Linked DNA regions of Homo sapiens: region 1 is linked to region 2. Evidence: promoter capture Hi-C in human tissues and cell types (Jung and others, 2019). All regions are on one chromosome and are shown on one strand. Each heading gives the region's core, a stretch centred on a gene start or on the middle of the fragment in contact. The rest is flanking DNA. Distances are from core to core; before and after follow the strand shown. Region 1 has its middle 44 kb from the start of SDR9C7. Region 2 holds the start of RDH16 (retinol dehydrogenase 16).

Region 1 (6,864 bases), core at 1,264-3,763, 66 kb after region 2:
CATATTAGGATTGAGAAGCTCTTATTCTAGCATGATTTCTATATGAGCTGCCATATTGTTCACTTTGACTCTTTTTTTTTTATTGTACTTTAAGTTCTAGGGTACATGTGCACAATGTGCAGGTTTGTTACATATGTATACATGTGCCATGTTGGTGTGCTGCACCCATTAACTCGTCATTTACATTAGGTATCTCCCCTAATGGTATCCCTCCCCCTCCCCCTACCCCACGATAGACCCCAGTGTGTGATGTTCCCCATCCTGTGTCCAAGTGTTCTCATTGTTCAATTCCCACTTATGAATGAGAACATGCGGTGTTTGGTTTTCTATCCTTGCGATAGTTTGCTGAGAATGATGGTTTCCAGCTTCATCCATGTCCCTACAAAGGACATGAACTCATCCTTTTTTATGGCTGTATAGTATTCCATGGTCTATATGTGCCACATTTTCTTAATGCAGTCAATCACTGATGGACATTTGGGTTGGTTCCAAGTCTTTGCTGTTGTGAATAGTGCCGCAATAAACATACATGTGCATGTGTCTTTATAGTAGCATGATTTATAGTCCTTTGGGTATATACCCAGTAATGGGATGGCTGGGTCAAACGGTATTTCTAGTTCTAGATCCTTGAGGAATTGCCACTGTCTTCCACAACAGTCGAACTAGTTTACAGTCCCACCAACAGTGTAAAAGTGTTCCTATTTCTCCACATCCTCTCCAGCACCTGTTGTTTCCTGACTTTTTAATGATCGCCATTCTAACTGGTGTGAGATGGTATCTCATTGTGGTTTTGATTTGCATTTCTCTGATGGCCAGTGAAGATAAGCATTTTTTCATGTGTCTCTTCACTGCATAAATGTCTTCTTTTGAGAAGTGTCTGTTCATATCCTTTGCCCACTTTTTGATGGGGTTGTTTGATTTTTTCTTGTAAATTTGTTTAAGTTCTTTGTAGATTCTGGATATTAGCCCTTTGTCTAATGGATAGATTGCAAAAATTTTCTCCCATTCTGTAGGTTGCCTGTTCACACTGATGATAGTTTATTTTGCTGTGCAGAAGCTCTTTAGTTTAATTAGATACCATTGGTCAATTTTGGCTTTTGTTGCCATTGCTTTTGGTGTTTTAGTCATGGAGTCCTTGCCCATGCCTATGTACTGAATAGTATAGCCTAGGTTTTCTTCTAGGGTTTTTATGGTTTTAGGTCTAACGTTGAAGTCTTTAATCCATCTTGAATTAATTTTTGTATAAGGTGTAAGGAAGGGATCCAGTTTCAGCTTTCTACATATGGCTAGCCAGTTTTCCCAGCACCATTTATTAAATAGGGAATCCTTTCCCCATTTCTTGTTTTTGTCAGGTTTGTCAAAGATCAGATGGTTTTAGATGTGTGGTGTTATTTCTAAGGGCTCTGTTCTGCTCCATTGGTCTATATGTCTGTTTTGGTACCAGTACCATGCTGTTTTGGTTACTGTAGCCTTGTAGTATAGTTTGAAGTCAGGTAGCATGATGCCTCCAGCTTTGTTCTTTTGGCTTAGGATTGTCTTGGCAATGTGGGCTCTTTTTTGGTTCCATATGAACTTTAAAGTAGTTTTTTCCAATTCTGTGAAGAAAGTCATTGGTAGCTTGATGGGGATGGCATTGAATCTATAAATTACCCTAGGCAGTATGGCCATTGTCATGATATTGACTTTTCCTATTCATGACCATGGAATGTTCTTCCATTTGTTTGTATCCTCTTTTATTTCATTGAGCCGTGGTTTGTAGTTCTCCTTGAAGAGGTCCTTCACATCCCTTGTAAGTTGGATTCCTAGGTATTTTAATCCTTTGTAGCAATTGTGAATGGGAGTTCACTTATGATTTGGCTCTCAGTTTGTCTGTTATTGGTATATAGGAATGCTTGTTATTTTTGCACATTGATTTTGTATCCTGAGACTTTGCTGAATTTGCTTATCAGCTTGAGGAGATTTTGGGCTGAGACGATGGGTTTTTCTAAATATACAATCATGTCGTCTGCAAACAGGGACAATTTGACTTCCTCTTTTCCTAGGTGAATGCCCTTTATTTCTTTCTGTTGCCTGATTGCCCTGGCCAGAACTTCCAACACTGTGTTGAAAAGGAATGGTGAGAGAGGGCGTCCCTGCCTTGTGCCAGTTTTCAGAGGGAATGCTTCCAGTTTTTGCCCATTCAGTATGATATTGGCTGTGGGTTTGTCATAAATAGTTCTTATTATTTTGAAATACATCCCATCAATACCTTGTTTATTGAGTTTTTAGCATGAAGGGCTGTTGAATTTTGTCAAAGGCCTTTTCTGCATCTATTGAGATAATCATGTGGTTTTGTGTTTGGTTCTGTTTGTGTGATGGATTATGTTTGTTGATTTGCATATGTTGAACCAGACTTGCATCTCAGGGATAAAGCCAAATTGGTCTTGTTGGATAAGCTTTTTGATGTGCTGCTAGATTTGGTTTGCCAGTATTTTATTGAGGATTTTCACATCAATGTTCATCAGGGATATTGGTCTAAAATTCTCTTTTTTTGTTGTGTCTCTGCCAGGCTTTGGTATCAGGATGATGCTGGCCTCATAAAATGAGTTAGGGAGAATTACCTCTTTTTCTATTGATTGGAATAGGTTTATAAGGAATGGTACCAGTTCCTCTTTCTTCCTCTGGTAGAATTCGGCTGTGAATCCATCTGGTCCTGGACTTTTTTTTGGTTGATAGGCTGTTAATTATTGCCTCAATTTCAGAGTCTGTTATTGGTCTATTCAGGGATTCAAGTTCTTCCTGGTTTAGTCTGGGAGGGTATGTGTGTCCTGGAATGTATCCGTTTCTTCTAGATTTTGTAGTTTATTTGTGTAGAGGTGTTTATAGTATTCTCTGATGGTAGTTTGTGTTTCTGTGGGATCAGTGCTGATATCCCCTTTCTCATTTTTATTGTGTCTATTTGATTCTTCTCTCTTTTCTTCTTTATTAGTCTTGCTAGCGGTCTATCAATTTTGTTGATCTTTTCAAAAAACCAGCTCCTAGATTCATTGATTTTTTGAAGGGTTTTTGTGTCTCTATCTCCTTCAGTTCTGCTCTGCTCTTAGTTATTTCCTGCCTTCTGCAAGCTTTTCCATTTGTTTGCTCTTGCTTGTCTAGTTCTTTTGATTGTGATGTTAGGATGTTGATTTTAGATCTTTCCTGCTTTCTCTTGTGGGCATTTTGTGCTATAAATTTCCCTCTACATACTGCTTTAAATGTGTCCCAAAGATTCTGGTACATTGTGTTTTTGTTCTCATCAGTTTCAAAGACCATCTTTATTTCTGCCTTCATTTCGTTTTTTAGCCAGTAGTCATTCAGGAGCAGGTTGTTCAGTTTCCATGTAGTTGAGTGGTTTTGAGTAAGTTTCTTAATCCTGAGTTCTAATTTGATTGCACTGTGGTCTGAGGGACAGTTTGTTGTGATTTCTGTTCTTTTACATTTGCCGAGGAGTGCTTTGCTTCCGACTATGTTGTCAATTTTGGAATACGTGTGATGTGGTGCTGAGAGGAATGTATATTCTGTTGATTTGGGGTGGAGAGTTCTGTAGACGTCTATTAGGTCAGCTTGGTGCAGAGCTGAGTTCAAGTCATGGATATCCTTGTTAACCTTCTGTCTCGTTGATCTGTCTAATCTTGACAGTGGGGTGTTAAAGTCTCCCGTTATTATTGTGTTGGAGTCTAAGTCTCTTTTTAGGTCTCTAAGGACTTGCTTTATGAATCTGGGTGCTCCTGTATTGGGTGCATATATATTTAGGATAGTTAGCTCTTCTTGTTGAATTGATCCCTTTACCATTATGTAAGGGCCTTCTTTGTCTCTTTTGATCTTTGTTGGTTTAAAGTCTGTTTTATCAGAGACTAGGATTGCAACCCCTGTTTTTTTTTTGGTTTTTTTTTTTTTTTTTTTGCTTTTCGTTTGCTTGGTAGATCTTCCTCCATCCCTCTATTTTGAGCCCATGTGTGTCTCTGCACATGAGATGGATCTCCTGAATACAGCAAACTGATGAGTCTTGATTTTTTAATCCAATCTCCTGTCTGTGTCTTTTAATTGGGGCTTTTAGCCCATTTACATTTAAGGTTAATATTGTTATGTGTGAATTTGATCATGTCATTATGATGTTAGCTGGTTATTATGCCCATTAGTTGATGCAGTTTCTTCCTAGCATTGATGGCCTTTACAATTTGGCATGTTTTTGCAGTGGCTGGTACCAGTTGTTCCTTTCCATGTTTAGTGCTTCCTTCAGGAGCTCTTGTAAGGCAGGCCTGGTGGTGACAAAATCTCTCAGCATTTGCTTGTCTGTAAAGGATTTTATTTCTCCTTCACTTATGAAGCTTAGTTTGGCTGGATATGAAATTCTGGGTTGAAAATTCTTTTCTTTAAGAATGTTGAATATTGGTCCCCGCTCTCTTCTGGCTTGTAGAGTTTCTGTGGAGAGATCTGCTGTTAGTCTGATGGGCTTCCCTTTGTGGGTAACCCAACCTTTCTCTCTGGCTGCCCTTAACGTTTTTTCCTTCATTTCAACCTTGGTGAATCTTACAATTATGTGTCTTGGGGTTGCTCTTCTCAAGGAGTATCTTTGTGGTGTTCTCTGTATTTCCTGAATTTGAATGTTGGCCTGCCTTGCTAGGTTGGGGAAGTTCTCCTGGATAATATCCTGAAGAGTGTTTTCCAGCTTGGTTCCCTTCTTCCTGTCACTTTCAGGTACACCAATCAAATGTAGATTTGGTCCTTTCACATAGTCCCATATTTCTTGGAGGCTTTGTTCATTTCTTCTTATTCTTTTTTCTCTAAGCTTCTCTTCTCGCTTCATTTCATTCATTTGATCTTCAATCACTGATACGCTTTCTTCCACTTGATTGAATCGGCTACTAAAGCTTGTGCATGCATCACATAGTTCTTGTGCCATGGTTTTCAGCTTCATCAGGTCATTTAAGGTCTTCTCTACACTGTTTATTCTAGTTAGTCATTTGTCTAATCTTTTTTCAGTTTTTAGCTTCCTTGTGATGGATTTGAACATCCTCCTTTAGCTCGGAGAAGTTTGTTATTACCGACCTTCAGAAGCCTACTTCTGTCAACTCATCAAAGTCATTCTCCATCCAGCCTTGTTCCATTGCTGGCGAGGAGCTGTGGTACTTTGAAGGAGAAGAGTCCCTCTGGCTTTTAGAATTTTCAGCTTTTCTGCTCTGGTTTCTCCCCATCTTCATGGTTTTATCTACCTTTGGTCTTTGATGTTGGTGACCTACAGATGGGTTTTTGGTGCGGATGTCCTTTTTGTTGATGTTGGTACTATTCCTTTCTGTTTGTTAGTTTCCCTTCTAAAAGGTCCGTCAGCTGCAGGTCTTTTGGAGTTTTTCGGAGGTCCACTCCGGACCCTGTTTGCCTGTGTATCACCAGCAGAGGCTGAAGAATGGCAAATATTGCAGAACAGCAAATATTGCTGTCTAATCCTTCCTCTGGAAGCTTTGTCTCAGAGAGGCACCTGCTTGTATGAGGTGTCAGTCGGCCCCTACTGGGAGGTGTCTCCCAGTTAGGCTACACGGGGGTCAGGGACCCACTTGAGGAGGCAGTCTGTCTGTTCTCAGAGCTCAAACACTGTGCTGGGTGAACCACTGCTCTCTCTTCAGTGCTGTCAGACAGGGAAGTTTAAGTCTGCAGAAGTTTCTGCTGCCTTTTGTTCAGCTATGCCCTACCCCCAGAGGTGGAGTCTACAGAGGCAGGGAGGTCTCGTTGAGCTGTGGTGGGCTCCACCCCAATGTTATCAATTTCTTAAGGGGAACTTAAATTAATATTTCATTGTGTTAATTAAACTCACTTTAAAAACATAAACTGTGTTCATAAATTTAACATATTTAATTTTCTTTTAAAGTATGTCTTTAATAGAATTGTAAACAAAAGAAAATAAATAAATACAATTATCAATTGTATGACTGATAAACCCTAAATAAGCCTTATAAATCAAGTAATACAACATATAAATATGGCAAAGCCATGTTATCTTAAACTTTCTAATATGATTTATAATATAGCACAATTTTCTTTTATCTTAAAATCACAAATCTAATTGAATACTCATTATACATTTAAAAATTGGAATTAGAAAGCAAATGTGTTTGATAATCTATTATGTGAAATTGTTCATAATATGCCACATTCTCTTTTATTTTTAAATACTTAAAATACTGTATAAATCATTTCCAAATTTAATTCAAAATAATAATTCAGGGTTTGGTTTACTTGACTGTCTCTATACATTACCATTTCTATACTCTATTATAAATCTCCTCAGACATTTACCCAATAAAGAGAAAATTATTTCATTCCAAATAATTTGACATTGCCTTTTAAAGTGGCTGAACTTGGATATAAACCTGAGATTTTGATTGGGATAAGAATATTTATAGCTGTAGACATATAGCAAGAATTTTCTCACAATGATGGGGAACATTTATTAGAAGCCCTTTTAAATGCCCCTATGCTGCATGGGGATGCCTCACACAACCCACTACCCCCGCCTTATAGTGGGTGCCCCTAATTCGCACATCCAGTCTGTATTAGTCCATTCTCATGTTGCTATAAAGAACTACCTGAGACTGGGTTATTTATAAAGAAAAGAGGTTTAATTGACTCAGAGTTCTGCAGACTGTACAAGAAGCATGGTCCAGGGAGGTCTCAGAAAACTTACAATCACAGCAGAAGGTGAAGGGGAAACAGGCACATCTTACATGGCCAGAGAAGGAGGAAGAGGATGAAGGGGGAGGTGCTACACACTTTTAAACAGATCTCATGAGAACTCACTCACTATCATGAGAACAGCAAGGGTGAAATCTGTTCCCATTATCCAATCACCTC
Region 2 (6,981 bases), core at 1,484-3,983:
GCTCGTTAGTTGATGCAGTTTCTTCCTAGCATCAATGGTCTTTACAATTTGGCATGTTTTTGCAGTGGCTGGTACTGGTTGTTTCTTTCCATGTTTAGTGCTTCCTTCAGGAGCTCTTGTAAGGCAGGCCTGGCGGTGACAAAATCTCTCAGCATTAGTTTGTCTGTAAAGAATTTTATTTCTCCTTCACTTATGAAGCTTAGTTTGGCTGGATATGAAATTCTGAGTTGAAAATTCTTTTCTCTAAGAATGTTGAACATTGGCCCCCACTCTCTTCTGGCTTGTAGAGTTTCTGCTGAGAGATCCACTGTTAGTTTGATGGGCTTCCCTTTGTAGGTAACCTGACCTTTCTCTCTGGCTGCCCTTAACATTTTTTCCTTCATTTCAACCTTCGTGAATATGACAATTATATGTCTTAGGGTTCCTCTTCTTGAAGAGTATCTTTGTGGTGTTCTCTGTATTTCCCAAATTTGAATGTTGGCCTGCCTTGCTAGATTGGGGAAGTTCTCCTGGATAATAACCTGAAGAGTATTTTCCAACTTGGTTTCATTCTGCCCGTCACTTTCAGGTACAGCAGTCAAACGTAGGTTTGGTTTTTTCACATAGTTCCATATTTCTTGGAGGCTTTGTTCACTTCTTTTTCTCTTTTTTCTCCAAACTTCTCTTCTCACTTTATTTCATTAATTTGATCTCCAATCACTGATATTCTTTCTTCCACTTGAGCAAATTGGCTATTGAAGCTTATGCATGCATCCTGTAGTTCTCATGCCATGGTTTTCGGCTCCATCAGGTCATTTAAGGACTTATCTACACTGTTTATTCTAGTTAGCCATTCATCTAATCTTTTTTTCAAGACTGTTAGCTTCCTTGTGATGGGTTCCAACATCCTCCTTTAGCTCAGAGAATTTTGTTACTCTGACCTTCTGAAGCCTACTTCTGTCAACTCATCAAAGTCATTCTTCATCCAGCTTTTTTCTGTTGCTGGCAAGGAGCTGTGATCCTTTGGAGGAGAAGAGGCACTCTGGTTTTTTGAATTTTCAGATTTTCTGCTCTGGTATCTCCCCATCTTTGTGGTTTTATCTACCTTTGGTGTTTGATGTTGGCGACCTACAGATGGGGTTTTGGTGTGGATGTCCTTTTTGTTGATTTTGAGCTATTTCTTTCTGTTTGTTAGTTTTCCTTCAAACAGTTTCCTCAGCTGCAGGTCTGTTGGAGTTTGCTGGAGGTCCACTCCAGTCCCTGTTTGCCTGGGTATCACCAGCAGAGGCTGCAGAACAGCAAATATTGCAGAACAGCAAATATTGTTGCCTGATCCTTCCTCTGGAAACTTCGTCCCAGAGGGGCACCCACCTGTATGAGATGTCAGTCGGCCCCTACTGGGAGGTGTCTCCCAGTTAGTCTACACAGGGTTCAGGGACCCATTTGAGAAGGCAGTCTGTCTGTTCTAAGAGCTCAAACACCATGCTGGGAGAACCACTGCTCTCTTCAGTGCTGTCAGACAGGGATGTTTAAGTCTGCAGAGGTTTCTGCTGCCTTTTGTTCAGTTATGCACTGCTCCCAGAGGTGGAGTCTATAGAGGCAGAAAGCCTTGCCTTGCTGCAGTGGGCTTCGCCCAGTTTGAGCTGCCCAGCTGCTTTGCTTTCCTACTCAAGCCTCAGCAATGGTGAGCAACCCTCCTCCTGCCAGGCTGCTGCCTTGCAGGTTGATCTCAGACTACTGCACTAGCAGTGAGCAAAGCTCTGTGGGAATGGGACCCACCAAACCAGGCACAGGATATAATCTCCTGGTGTGCCATTTGCTAAGACCATTGGAAAAGTGCAGTATTTGAGCAGGAGTGTCTTGTTTTTCCAGGTACAGTCTGTCACGGCTTCCCTTGTCTAGGAAAGGGAAATCCCCTGACCTCTTACACTTCCTGGGTAAGGCAATGCCCTGCCTTGCTTCGGCTCACCCTCTGTGGGCTGCACGCACTGTCCAACCAGTCCCAGTGAGATGAACCAGGTACCTCAGCTGGAAATGCAGAAATCACCCATTTTCTGCATCAGTCACACTGGGAGCTGCAGACCGGAGCTGTTCCTATTTGCCCATCCTCTCCCTGCTTTCTTTACCTCTGAGGTTGGATTCTCCCTGTGGGATCCTGCAATCCTTCTGCCCCAAAAAACTATTATAGCAGGAGGGAACCTGTTCCTGCTCACTCTTTGCCTTCTCCTTCTCATCCTAGACAGCCTGACCGTGCCCTAGTTTTCAGAGGAGTGATTGATTCTGGGGTGCGGAGCAGGATGAGGAAACTCAGGCTCAGAGAGGGATTTCCACCTAATGTGCCTGGAAACCATGGGTAGCTACCCAATAAGGCCTTTCTATGTTCAGAAGGTCATGGACCAGGAGTGTTGGTATCGGAGCTTTGTAGAGACAGTTTTGACCCCTGTACTTAGAGCAGAGGGGTGTGTTTGCCATGGAGAGTGTGTGTGGGCAGCTGTGTGTAAGCCTGTGTGAGTTCTGTGTATGTTCCTGTGTGAATATATGTGTGTGCTCCTTCATGGACACAGCATGCATGTAGTGGGCATAGCAAGGCAGAGAGAAATCAGGAGACTAGGGGCACATTGCCCAGTAGGAAGATAGTATCTTCCTACTGGGCAGGACTTGAGGTGTGCAAAGGTGTGCATGAGTACTGCAAAAGCAGTTCAAAGAGCAGAGAGGTGGGGCCAGAATAAATATGTTGCAGAAAGGCAGTCATCAGGGAGGAAAGTGAGGATTCCCTGCCAAAATGCCTGAGGGCTTCCCTGCCTACCACAGCCCTCTGTGTTCTTAAATCCTCCTGTCTGAACAGAGGCCAGACTCTGGTTTCCCCCACAGCCTGTCTGTGTCTGTCCTCTGCAAAGCCATGTGGCTCTACCTGGCGGTTTTCGTGGGCCTGTACTACCTTCTGCACTGGTACCGGGAGAGGCAGGTGCTGAGCCACCTGAGAGATAAGTATGTGTTCATCACGGGCTGTGACTCTGGCTTCGGGAAACTGCTGGCCAGACAGCTGGATGCACGAGGCTTGCGGGTGCTGGCTGCATGTCTGACGGAGAAAGGAGCCGAGCAGCTGAGGGGCCAGACTTCAGACAGGCTGGAGACGGTGACCCTGGATGTTACCAAGACAGAGAGCGTTGCTGCAGCCGCCCAGTGGGTGAAGGAGTGCGTGAGAGACAAAGGTAACCACCCAGGTTTGTCAAGTCTGTCTGTGTCTTCCCTCTGTGTGAAGGGACCACCTCCTGTCTGCTCCCTGGGAAGATTCCTACAGTGTCTTTCCAGGTTGAAGTAACAGTAGCTTTCTAATATTTCTCACTTAACAGGCTGCCTGAACCCCATCTCTTTTCAATCCTTAACCTCTCCCGACATTGGAGGTGTCTAGTCTTGGGGAGAGTTTGCCCTGATGAGATTTTCTCTCCAGAATTCCTCTCTATCCTCTCCCTCCTGTCTAAGCAGAAGTCATGTGTTGTTTGATGCTAAGAGCCTGGGTTAGAGATCTGGAGACTTGCTGGAGCATCGTTGAGAAGGGAGCACAGGGCTGCAAGTGTGCACGGAGGCTGTGCCTGTGCTGGAGCCAGGCTTATGTTCCCAGCACTTTACCTTGTTTTTGCTAGGGCCCATCAGCGTCCACTGAGAGCTACGATCATCTCCATCTTCAGAGGAGAGTATCAGCTTAAGGACTGCTTAAGGAAGGCAGAACTAGTAAGGGGTTACTTTTTCTTTCTTTCTTCTTTTCACTACACTAATTCATCTGTCTTATTATAGAGGAAGAAAGAAACATGGATTTATTTTATGTAACAATAAATCAGAATATGATCTTTGTGGAAAACACTGAAAAGAATAAAGATGAAAACAAGTTTCCCTGAAATTGTCATCCACACATAAGTCCTTTTTACAATTATACAAAATTAGGATTTTATATTTTGTTCTTAGTTTCAGTCACCTTAAATTCTCTGGAGAAGATGAACACTTTTCCACCATAATGACTGTTTTTATAAAATTATATTTAATTATTTAGAATACTGTATCCTTCCAATAGCCTTACCTATGTAATCCATACTGAGTGGTTGGATATGAAATTCCTTCCTGCTTTTTATTCATCATAAATGTCATCTTGGTGGACTTTTATTTGCCAACGTCTCTGTAAGTGTGAGTATTGATTGGATTCTTAAAAATGAGATGTCTGGGTGGAGGAATCTGCATTTGCATCAGGGCAGGGCCTGTTATTGAGCAGGGGACAGGTTCATATGCCTGGGCCAACCCTTCCAGATCAACAACTGCCACCCCCTGCCTGGACTCAAGGGACCCTGTGCTCCTGCCCCCTAGCTCTGTGGGTTGAAAACTCTATTGACTTGAAGTCCTGGGGATTGTGTATTTGCATCTTCCAGAGAGATTTTCCCAGAGCTGGGTGAACTTGGGACTAAAGGGAAGGATGAAGAGTGGGCTTCTGATGCAGTAGGAGGAGAGGGTGACATTTTCTGGGGCAGAGGGTGGAGTCTGTGTACTGAGTGGGGTGACGCAACCTTGCTTTCTTCCCAAAGCCTGTGCATTGGAATTCCCCTGTGCTTTCTATAAAAATGTTACTGATGCAGGATGTTTCAAGACCAGTGCCCTGAGTTCAAACACTTGGGAAACAGGATGTTTCCCAAGTTCCCCCAAGCCTAGGATTTCAGGTCTGTCTCTTTCTCTCTTTCCTGTCTCCCTCACTCTCCCTCTTTCTTGTCTCTTATTCCATCAACAGATAGTTGCTGGACAATCACTATATAAGGTGTTAGCACACCTGAAAATGCAGCTGTATGTCTGTAATGTCTGCAACATTCATGTTTAACTAACCAAACATTGGTCTTCATGTTTCCAGACTAATGCATGGACAATAGTTCTTTAACATGATTTCATGCAGTCCTTAAATAGGGGTAATAGCTTATTGTCTTTCAGGCAGTAGGCTGGTCCATGAAGAGTAAATGGAGAAAGACCTGGGTTTTGTGGCCCACCAGCTGCTGAATGCTCAGCCCCCACCCCTGTGATACTGTGGTGTTTGTTATACCCTCCTCCCCATCCCACACCTGTCAGTCTGCCCTCACTTTATTGGGATGTGATTTGCACCCTAACTCTGTCCACCTGCACAGGCACAACACAGTGATGCTCTCTCATCTTCCCACTGTCCCAGGACTCTGGGGCCTGGTGAATAATGCTGGCATCTCCTTGCCCACGGCTCCCAATGAGTTGCTCACCAAGCAGGACTTCGTGACCATACTGGACGTGAACTTGTTGGGGGTGATTGATGTGACTCTGAGCCTGCTGCCCTTAGTGAGGAGGGCCAGGGGCCGTGTGGTCAACGTCTCCAGTGTCATGGGCCGGGTGTCACTTTTTGGTGGAGGCTACTGCATCTCCAAGTATGGCGTGGAAGCCTTCTCTGACTCCCTCAGGTATGGGTCTGGGATGGGGCCCACCCTAGTCTTCCTGCTCCTGTCCTTGTGGGGAAGTCTTTTCCAGGGAGTTCCTTGAATCCCAGCCTGTAAGTTCCTTTCATGAGATCACTCTCTGTCTTCATGTGTGACACCCTCATCTTCCTCTTTCTGGATTGGGCTGGCCATTCACTGGGAAGCACCTTCCTGAGTGCTGGGCGACAGGAGGGGCCCCAGGTCAGAGAGTTTCTTGAACGATACCTCTTCCCTGGATGGATCTCTTGGTCAGAAACTGCCAGAGGCAGAATTGGACCTGGATCTTTGGCTTCAGATCCTACCAAGAGGAACACAGTACTGAGGTTACCAAGCCCAGGACAGGGGAACACTGTGTATCAATGACTAATCCCAGGGAAGGACCCTAAACACTTCTTCCCATTGCACCTTGGTATTGGAGCCACAAAGGCAGACCAGGCAGTCAGTGCTGGATGGAAGAATGCTTTGCACCCTAGAGAAGGAGCAGAGAAAGATCAGCTACAGCAGTGTGTGTTGGTCCCCTAGCCAGGGAGGCTCTCCCAGCAGCTGACACTGGGCATGTGGCTTGCTAACACCCCTCTCTTGCTGTAGTAGAAGGACCCCAACCCCTCCTCCCAGGAATCTGAAATACTTGTAAACCTGGGGCATGCCTTAGGGCCGCGGACACACACAAGCTCATGCAGACGCAAGAGCACTCACTGAGTCAGAAACAGGGAAAGATATTTCCACACCAGGAGATGGGTGCCTGGCTCTGGGGCTCTTCCTCTCTAGGGAGAGAAATGCTTCAAGCCCTGAGGCCATTCCTTCATGGCTCTCTGGGGCCCAAAGACAGCATGCAGGAGATGGTCTTTCCCAGCAGAATTCATATCCAGAGCCCCTTTGACGATGGGTAGAGCATCTGAGTCCACACAACAGACACTTTAGGCCCTTGTCCAAGTGGCCAAAAATCCATCCTTAACAACAAGGTTTTGTCTGTGACTTAAAACTTGATACCTGGGAGAGGGACAAGAGATATAGAATCAAGTGCCAATGCTTATAAGGTTGGTGACCAAGTCAACCTTGCTGGCCATGGTACCCACCTGAGTTGAGGAGAGTCCTGGAGATTCCATCTGAGCTGGGGATTGAAAACTCAAGCTGGGGATTGAGAACTCCACCTGGCAGCCTGGTAAGGAAGACTGGGAAAGGCTCCTAGATGAAGGAATGCCATCAGCCCAGGCCCAGAGTGAGCATTAGCCACCTGCATGTACTGCAGAATCCTCTTGTGGTGAAGGTCAAGGCCAAGCCTGGTGGGGGATGCTGGGCAGGTGGTCATAGGTGGGCTCCTTGAGGGCCTGTGGGCCCTGGACAGGAGTTGTGGCTTATGCTGTTGGCAGTGGAACCCCCTCCAGAAAAGGGATTTGCTCAGGGGAGCTCCTTGGTCCAGTCAGCTTCTAGACTCCCACTGACTGCAGGAAGCCCAGTGGTTGTAAGTGTGGGGAGCCAGACTGAAGACAGATGCTTCTTAGAGGACAGCTGCCATCACCCAGCTCAGAGG

What was found. Contacts are between HindIII fragments. The study calls those that stand out against the background at their distance.
Region 1: a contact is called between a fragment that was not itself captured here and the fragment with the promoter of RDH16 in region 2, in 4 of the 25 tissues and cell types used here (H1 embryonic stem cells, adrenal gland, mesenchymal stem cells and 1 more).

The regions. Positions count from the first base shown.
Region 1 is chr12:56,887,263-56,894,126 of GRCh38, reverse strand. No RefSeq gene overlaps it. Among named protein-coding and RNA genes, the nearest start is that of SDR9C7, 44 kb to the left of the region's middle. The HindIII fragment of the contact is 5,339 bases long and covers 1-5,182 here.
Region 2 is chr12:56,953,360-56,960,340 of GRCh38, reverse strand. It overlaps RDH16 (retinol dehydrogenase 16), which reads left to right and starts at 2,733. Exons shown (of 4, transcript NM_003708.5): 1 at 2,733-3,191; 2 at 5,177-5,435. The coding sequence starts at 2,879. The HindIII fragment of the contact is 7,259 bases long and covers 470-6,981 here.